Linked DNA regions of Homo sapiens: region 1 is linked to region 2. The links are contacts of gene promoters, found by promoter capture Hi-C in blood cells and fetal thymus (Javierre and others, 2016). All regions are on one chromosome and are shown on one strand. The core of a region is centred on a gene start or on the middle of the fragment in contact, and the rest is flanking DNA. Distances in the headings are between cores, read along the strand shown. Region 1 has its middle 4.7 kb from the start of NEDD4. Region 2 holds the start of RSL24D1 (ribosomal L24 domain containing 1).

Evidence for each region. Contacts are between HindIII fragments. The CHiCAGO score rates a contact against its expected background, and 5 or more counts as called.
Region 1: a fragment that was not itself captured here is called in contact with the fragment with the promoter of RSL24D1 in region 2 in 1 of 17 cell types (non-activated CD4 T cells); the score reaches 5.3 in non-activated CD4 T cells.

What each region holds. Positions count from the first base shown.
Region 1 is chr15:55,996,551-56,000,083 of GRCh38, reverse strand. No RefSeq gene overlaps it. Among named protein-coding and RNA genes, the nearest start is that of NEDD4, 4.7 kb to the right of the region's middle. The HindIII fragment of the contact is 1,743 bases long and covers 1,321-3,063 here.
Region 2 is chr15:55,195,629-55,199,271 of GRCh38, reverse strand. RSL24D1 (ribosomal L24 domain containing 1) reads left to right here and starts at 2,331. Exons shown (of 6, transcript NM_016304.3): 1 at 2,331-2,462. The coding sequence starts at 2,382. RefSeq lists enhancers at 2,367-2,526, 2,320-3,211. The HindIII fragment of the contact is 1,416 bases long and covers 930-2,345 here.

The sequences.
Region 1 (3,533 bases), core at 943-3,442, 800 kb before region 2:
AGTCCCCACCAGGCAATAACCTAAATTTGCTGAAGTACTGGCCAAGAATGGGAAAATTGAGAGTGGGTGGTATAGGAGAGAGATAATGCATATCATTTATGACCCTGAGACCAGTTACACAGTAGATGCTGCAGCTTATCCTAGAAACCCTTGTCTATCAAGTCTTTTGGAGAGGTAAATACTGGACACACCTCAAAGACCCTACGGCAGAATGGACTAAGTGTGGGGCAGATCTGCACATGTATTAGATTCCTCTTGCACTCTGACTCATACCCTCTCAACTAACCTTTACTCCAGTCCTTGCTGCAGCAACCAAAGATGTAGAGATGTAACCAGACAGCAACTCATTTTAGTTGTTTAATGTATATTTCACTTTCTGCCCCTGTGCCTCACTGCCACTGCTGTTGGACATACCTGTAGGAGCCAATTCAGCCATTCTATACACAAGGAAATCTGCAAATATTAACATCCTATGAAATAACCCCTGTCCAATAGGGAATGGAAACTAACGAATAAATACTCCCTTCTTGGTAGAACAATTCTGAGGTACATTCTATATGACTCCTGAAGGGTCCTTAGTGATATCGAGCCCAAATCAGGTTAATCATGTAAAGGAAACTAAAAAATTTACAAAATCACTGCATGGGTCTTATGCCATTCCTTGTTTTACTCTTTTCAGTCCCTCACTCATGTTTCCTAGGCTCAGTCGCGTTCCGATAAATGTTTAATAACTGCCTCTCCAGGAAAATAAAATGATCTTGGTTTGTAGTGTTTGCCTATTTCTGTGATATAAATACACCATAATTTCAAGCTACCAACATGACATCACCAAATCTGCAGTTGGATAGAGGTGTACACAATTGTACCTTGGATGCCAGTATGAGTTGAGTCCAGCACACTACTGCTTGGGAGTGTGTCTCAAAAAAAATTACTGCATGCAAACATTTGTCTCAGAAGATATAGGGTGAAACAAAAAAAGACAAAAAGCTACCAGTCTGAGCCAATTACCAGACAATGATGGGTGTACCGACATTAGCCATGGATACCAATAAGAAGAGAAAAAAAATCTTAGGTAGAAGAGGAAAGAATTTCAATTGTATAACAAACTGGTGATAGGAAGAAGTTGTAGGAATGGGCAGGGGGTATGAATTTTAGAATACTCAGAAGTCTCTAGCCTTTGCAACTAGATAGACAATAATGCTATTTCCAGAGACACAGAATACAGGATTATAATGAGTTCATTTTGGGATCTATTTAGTTTGAGACTTTTTTCATGATACCAAGAAAGAGACAGTTAGTGGGAAATACAGGTCTGAAGCTTAGGTAAGAGATAAGGGTGTGGAAGCTATAGCAAGGTATTGTGAAATTTTATTGTTGATAACTACTTATATTCCTGGAATATCCTGCCGCCCTTCCTCTGGCTCCAGTCAGACAGCAGTGAGGTTTTCTGATTACTGCCCTCAGGCTAGAACTGTTACTACAGAAATGAAAAGAGAAAGATAAGTCAATGCTCAGCTTATAAGTTTTAAAATAGAGCTTTGAAACTCCTGGTAGAAAAAAATATGTTGACACTGGGTATGATGGCACATGCCTGTAATCCCAGCACTTTAGGAGGCCAAGGCAGGCAGATCACTTGAGGCCAGGTGTTCAAAACCAGCCTAGCCAACATGGTGAAACGCTATCTCTACTAAAAATAGAAAAATTAGCCAGGCATGGTGGCACATACCAGTAATCCCAGCTACTCAGGAGACTGAGGCAAGAGAATCACCTGAACCCAGGAGGCAGAGGTTACAGTGAGCCAAGATAGCACCACTGCACTCCAAACCTGGGATTATAGGCGTAAGCCACCGTGCCCAGCCATAACAAATCTCTTTATATATCTGCATCCTATTGGTTCTGTTTCTCTAGGGAACCATAATACAGGGTCTTTAATCTGTCAGTCTGGAACAGTTCCTCCAACTTTCTTGACTTCTATGTCCTTGACACTTTTGAAGATTACAGGGCAGATATTTTGTAGTACGTTCCTTAAATTGGATTTGTTTTCTCATGATTAGATCCAAGTTATGGAGGAAAAGCAATGGGTTGCAAGATTTTGGTTTATCAAATGTTCACTTTGATCATTTGATTAAGGTGGTATATTTCAGCCTTTTAATCTATGTAACTAAGTACTTTCTGGAAATATATGTTGAACCCTGTAAAAATCTCATTTTTCATTGAACTTTGAATGTACTCATTTATTATAATTTATATCTGTAATGAACACATGGTACCAGAATTATTCATTGGATTATAATCTGTTGCTATCATAATTTATTTTAGTGCTCAAGTTAGGCCATCTTTGGCCAGTGGGAGCTTTTTTCAGGTTGGTTCCTGTGTCCTTTTATTCTGTCTCCATCATTACTTTCATTATTTTCTGGGATAACAAGATGTTTCAGGCTCAACTTTTATTTGCCTTGTCCTAGTCCTGGAATCAGCCATTTTTCCAAGGAGCCCTGGTTTCTTTTAGTAAAAAGTTAAAATATGGATGCAAGATATGCTCATTGCTTTTGGGGTGTCATTGTTCCCAGGCCCTCTTAGAATACAAATGTAGAAAATATTTGTGTGTGTGTGTGTGTGTGTGTGTGTGTGTGTGTGTATGCAGCAGAGGTTTACATCTACATTTATTTATATACTATATATATATGTTAAAAACTTTTGAGTTCATATCAACACCACCAATTTCATTATAACAACACAAGACTCATTCAAGTTTTCTCTTTCCATTCTTGTAACTTCTTCAACAGTGACTAATGTGGTTCTCATTATCATTCATATATTCACTTATTGGATCACTTGTCTCTACAAGTAACTAATTTCCCATTTCTGCCATCACCAGTCCACCAAGCAAACCCTTCCTTGAACACACCTGGGTCCCACTGCCTTGCACCTGGCCGTCTTTCTCACTACCTCCCACCCCTTGTGGGGTGAGGAGGGCATTTTAAAAGATGACCATGATACCTGAACTCTCTTCTTTACTCCTTCCTCTGCCTTGTAACCTGGAACATAGACGTAATGATTGAAGCTTGAGCCACTCTCTGGACTATGAGGATAAGGGTCACACCTACAAACATCAGAGCAGTGAGCTGTGAAGTGCCTGAATTTCTGACCCTTTGGCAGAGCAAACTAGCCATATTAACCCTGCCCTGCCCACTGTCTAGACTTTTACATGACAGCCATATAACATGAATCTTTAAATCTTATTAGTTTAGGTAACAGCCAAATGTAATTCTACTTGATAAAGATGTCCACAGCTAGAGGCCAGCGGGAACACAGATACATCTACTAATTCCAGGAGGGAGTGATGAGAACCTTTATCACCAAGATGAGGGAGCACAACAGCCTGTTAGAAGTCAGAATCCAGCTTAGCAAAAAGAGGGTCAGGCAAGACCAATGAATTGATTGGGACTATGTATTCTACTACTGGAGGCAGAAACTTAGTTCATTTCAGAAAATCAAATAAACATTTCTTGCACTACTGAGCTCTGGATCTGAGA
Region 2 (3,643 bases), core at 1,082-3,581:
ACTCTGGAATTACTGGTCGAATGACTAGACAAGAAAAAGTATCCAATAAAAGGAAAAATGTGTGTATTTGAAGATTATAACTATACAAACTGATTCTAGAGTTAAAATGAAAAGATAAATGTTGAAGAATAGCCAGATAAAAAATGAATAAGAAGGACAAGGAAGGAAGGGTGATATGGTTTGGCTGTGTCCCCACCCAAATCTCATCTTGAATTATAGCTCCCATAATTCCTATGTGTTGTGGGAGGGACTTGGTGGGAGATAATTGAATCATGGGGCCAGTTTCCCCTACACTGTTCTCATGATAGTGCATAAGTCTCACGAGATCTGATTATTTTAAAGGGGTTTCGCCTTTCATTTGGTTTTCATTCTCTTTGCCTGCTGCCATCCATGTAAGACCTGACTTGCTCCTCCTCGGCTTCTGCTGTGATTGTGAGGTGTCCCCAGCCATAAAGAGTCCATTAAACCTCTTTCCTGTATAAATTGCCTAGTCTAGGGTATGTCTTTATCAGCAGCATGAAAACTAATAGAAAGGGAGAGGAGGTAAACCCAGTTATTCAAAAAATGACAATAATTTAAATATTTGGGCAGTGGCACATTAACAAATAAAACGATGGAACTGAGTCCAGAAATGGAGCCATAGATGTGACATTATGAGTGAGTGGGGGAAAGGATGCTTTATCAACATACAGCACTGAGGGAAAGACACTGGAGTCTTATGTCATTTATACTTAAATTCCAGACGAGTTGAAAATTCAAATGCAAAAAAATGAAACTACAAAACATAAGAGAAAACATTTTGAAAAACAATTTTGGAGTGAGAAGTGCAGTTTAAAGGAAAGTACCAAATCCAAAATCATAAAAAAATTGGATAAATCTGAATATATAAACAACATATTTCTGCATGGAAAAATACCATGAGCAAAGCTTAAAACATTGATAGGGAAATAATTTCTAAATGCATGTCAGCAAAGGACTAACCTTAACGTGTAAAGTGCTGTTGAAAATCAACGAAAGAATAGAAAACTGCGTAGGACCTGAACAGGCAATTCACAGAAAAAAGCTGAAAAACATTGTGAAAGATTCTTAACATCATTTGTAATTAAATTCAAGTTGAAATAATAATAAGATAAATTTTCATCTCAGGTTGGCAAAGATCACTTTTCACAGCGGGGTAGTGAAACAGACATCTTATTTGTTGATGCTGAGTGTTAATTGGTAAAAACTTTTGGAAGGCAATTTAGTATTATCTGCCAAATTTTAAAACTATTTATCTATATCCAGCTCCTCTGATCCAGCAGTTCTACATAAACCCTCTCCTGAAAAAGCGTACCAACAGATACTTATTATATCAAAAGATAAGAATGCCCATCGATTAGTGACCAATTAAAATACTTTCATACAATGGCATATATATATGAAAAAGAATGTTAAATACCCTTTTACAGTAAAATATGTATCAAATGCCTATTATGTGCCAGGGACTGTTCTAGATACTGGGATGTAGTTGTAAACCAAACGAACTGAAATCCCTGCCCCTCATGGAGCTCACATTCCAATGAAGGGATACAAGGTAACAGCAAGATGCAGAAAAGAGTAAATAGCATATTAACTAGTATTATAAAGAAGAGGACGTAGAGACAGGCAAACACACAAATATACATGTTTGCCTATGCACAGAAAAGCTCTGGCAGGTAATAAATGGAACTGTTTTGCCCCTGGGGAGGAAGACCGCAGGTCTAGGGAGGGAGTCGTAGTTTCCGGCGAAAATATTTGTTTACTACATATGCATATTAATTAAAATGGGGGGGAGGCGGATAACACGATTTTATATTTAAAAAAATTGCTGGTAAAGTCCTTGGAGCATCAGCAACTCAACCGTTTTCATTGCAATGTTCGAAGCAACGCTGGATTGCAGGGTCTTCGCCGCTTACACCCTGCAAATCACTGTGGGACGAGAATCGAGGGCTGGTCTAGGGCAGGCAGTAGACAAATGAGTTAAGAGAGTGCTCTCGAGAGCACTCCGAGGCAAAGCACAAACCAAAGATACATAATACTTGCATAAATGCCGACACACAGAGAGAAAAAACTAGGCGCTGTGAGAGCAAGTTCACAAGGTGGCGCAGAACCACATTTCCCCAAAGTAACAGCGAACAGGTCTAGTCTGCAGCTCTGCGCCTGCGTCAAACGGCAGCGCATTTGACCACACGGCCGCCGGAGGCACAGTCGTGTTCGCATCTGGTCTAACAGACCCGCGAGAACGAAGGACGCTTGCCTTTTTCCGGTCGGGGAAGGGGGAAGAAGGTAACTTCCGGTGACGGGGTTGCATCACTTCCTCTCAAGCTTGGCGTTTGTTTGGTGGGGTTACACGCGGGTTCAACATGCGTATCGAAAAGTGTTATTTCTGTTCGGGGCCCATCTATCCTGGACACGGCATGATGTTCGTCCGCAACGATTGCAAGGTAAGGCGGTCGACACCAGTTCTTGCTTCAGCCTAGCTCCCGCGGTTCCTGGGCGCGGCGGCTCGGTGCTGGGTGCTTCTGCGTCTGCCGTGTTTGGCCCGGGTTCCTCCCGTTGTTCCCCTGGGAGGGTGGCTTAACTGGGCCTCCGTTCTCAACGTTCCGCTTCGGGGGTTTCTCCTTGCCCGTCTTCCGAGCGGCGCTGGCCACCACGCCACCCTTGGGTGGCGTTGGCAGCGAGGAACTTCAGGAGCGATCCCAGCTAGCGCCTACCAGGAATCTTGGATGTCTGTGAGGGCTGTTTGGCCACTCATGTACTTGGGCCAAATTCTTGAATCCAGTAAACTTTGTTGAGTGTATACCCTGTCAGGCATTACACTAAGGTCCATACTAAAGTGTAGAGGTTGATGGAAGTGTTCCGTATTGCTTAATGGTAGAGTTATGTATTAAGTTACTGCAGGTGAGTTGGGGAGGGTCCTGTACGGAAAGACTCAGCATAGAGGTGATATTTATCTTGGATCCTGAATTTTGCGGAAGAAAGCGGAGGGGGCCTTCTAAGTGGAAGGAAAGTGAACATTTTGAGAAAAGGCAGAGAACGGAGCAAATACATTTGTTTGAGGAAGTGACTGGATTGTAAATGATGATAGAGCCTTGGGCGTAGGGCTACAAGTATAATAAGTCTGTAAACGTAAATAATAAATATGAGTCCTAGTTGTGAAAGACGTTTTGAATGGTACATGAATTTGTCCTGTCATTACAGAATGAATCCCGTTCCTCTCTTTCTCAGAGAAACACATTGTTTCTCAGAATTTGATCTCTTACGTTTGCTTCTGAATTACTGGGCGTTTACAGATTCCTGGTTTTCACCAGATCTATTGAGTTGGAATCTTTGGGGGAGGGGAAGAGGGTCTAAGAATCTGTATATTAAGGTGAATTTGACGTGCTAAATAATTACAAGTCTGACTTCTTCACCTTATATCTCTGTAACAGATCAAAGATATTGACCTCATTAATTAGATCCAAGGGATTCAGCTGAAAGTGACGGACCAAAGCCATGTTTGATAACGTAAAAGAACCTAGAAGATTTTGAATACTTGCTCTCAGGAACATGATAAGAAGTTTATAAAAATGAACCAAAAGATTGCCAGGTTGGGGTCTAATTCAGAGTAGGCAGTATGGTTTTA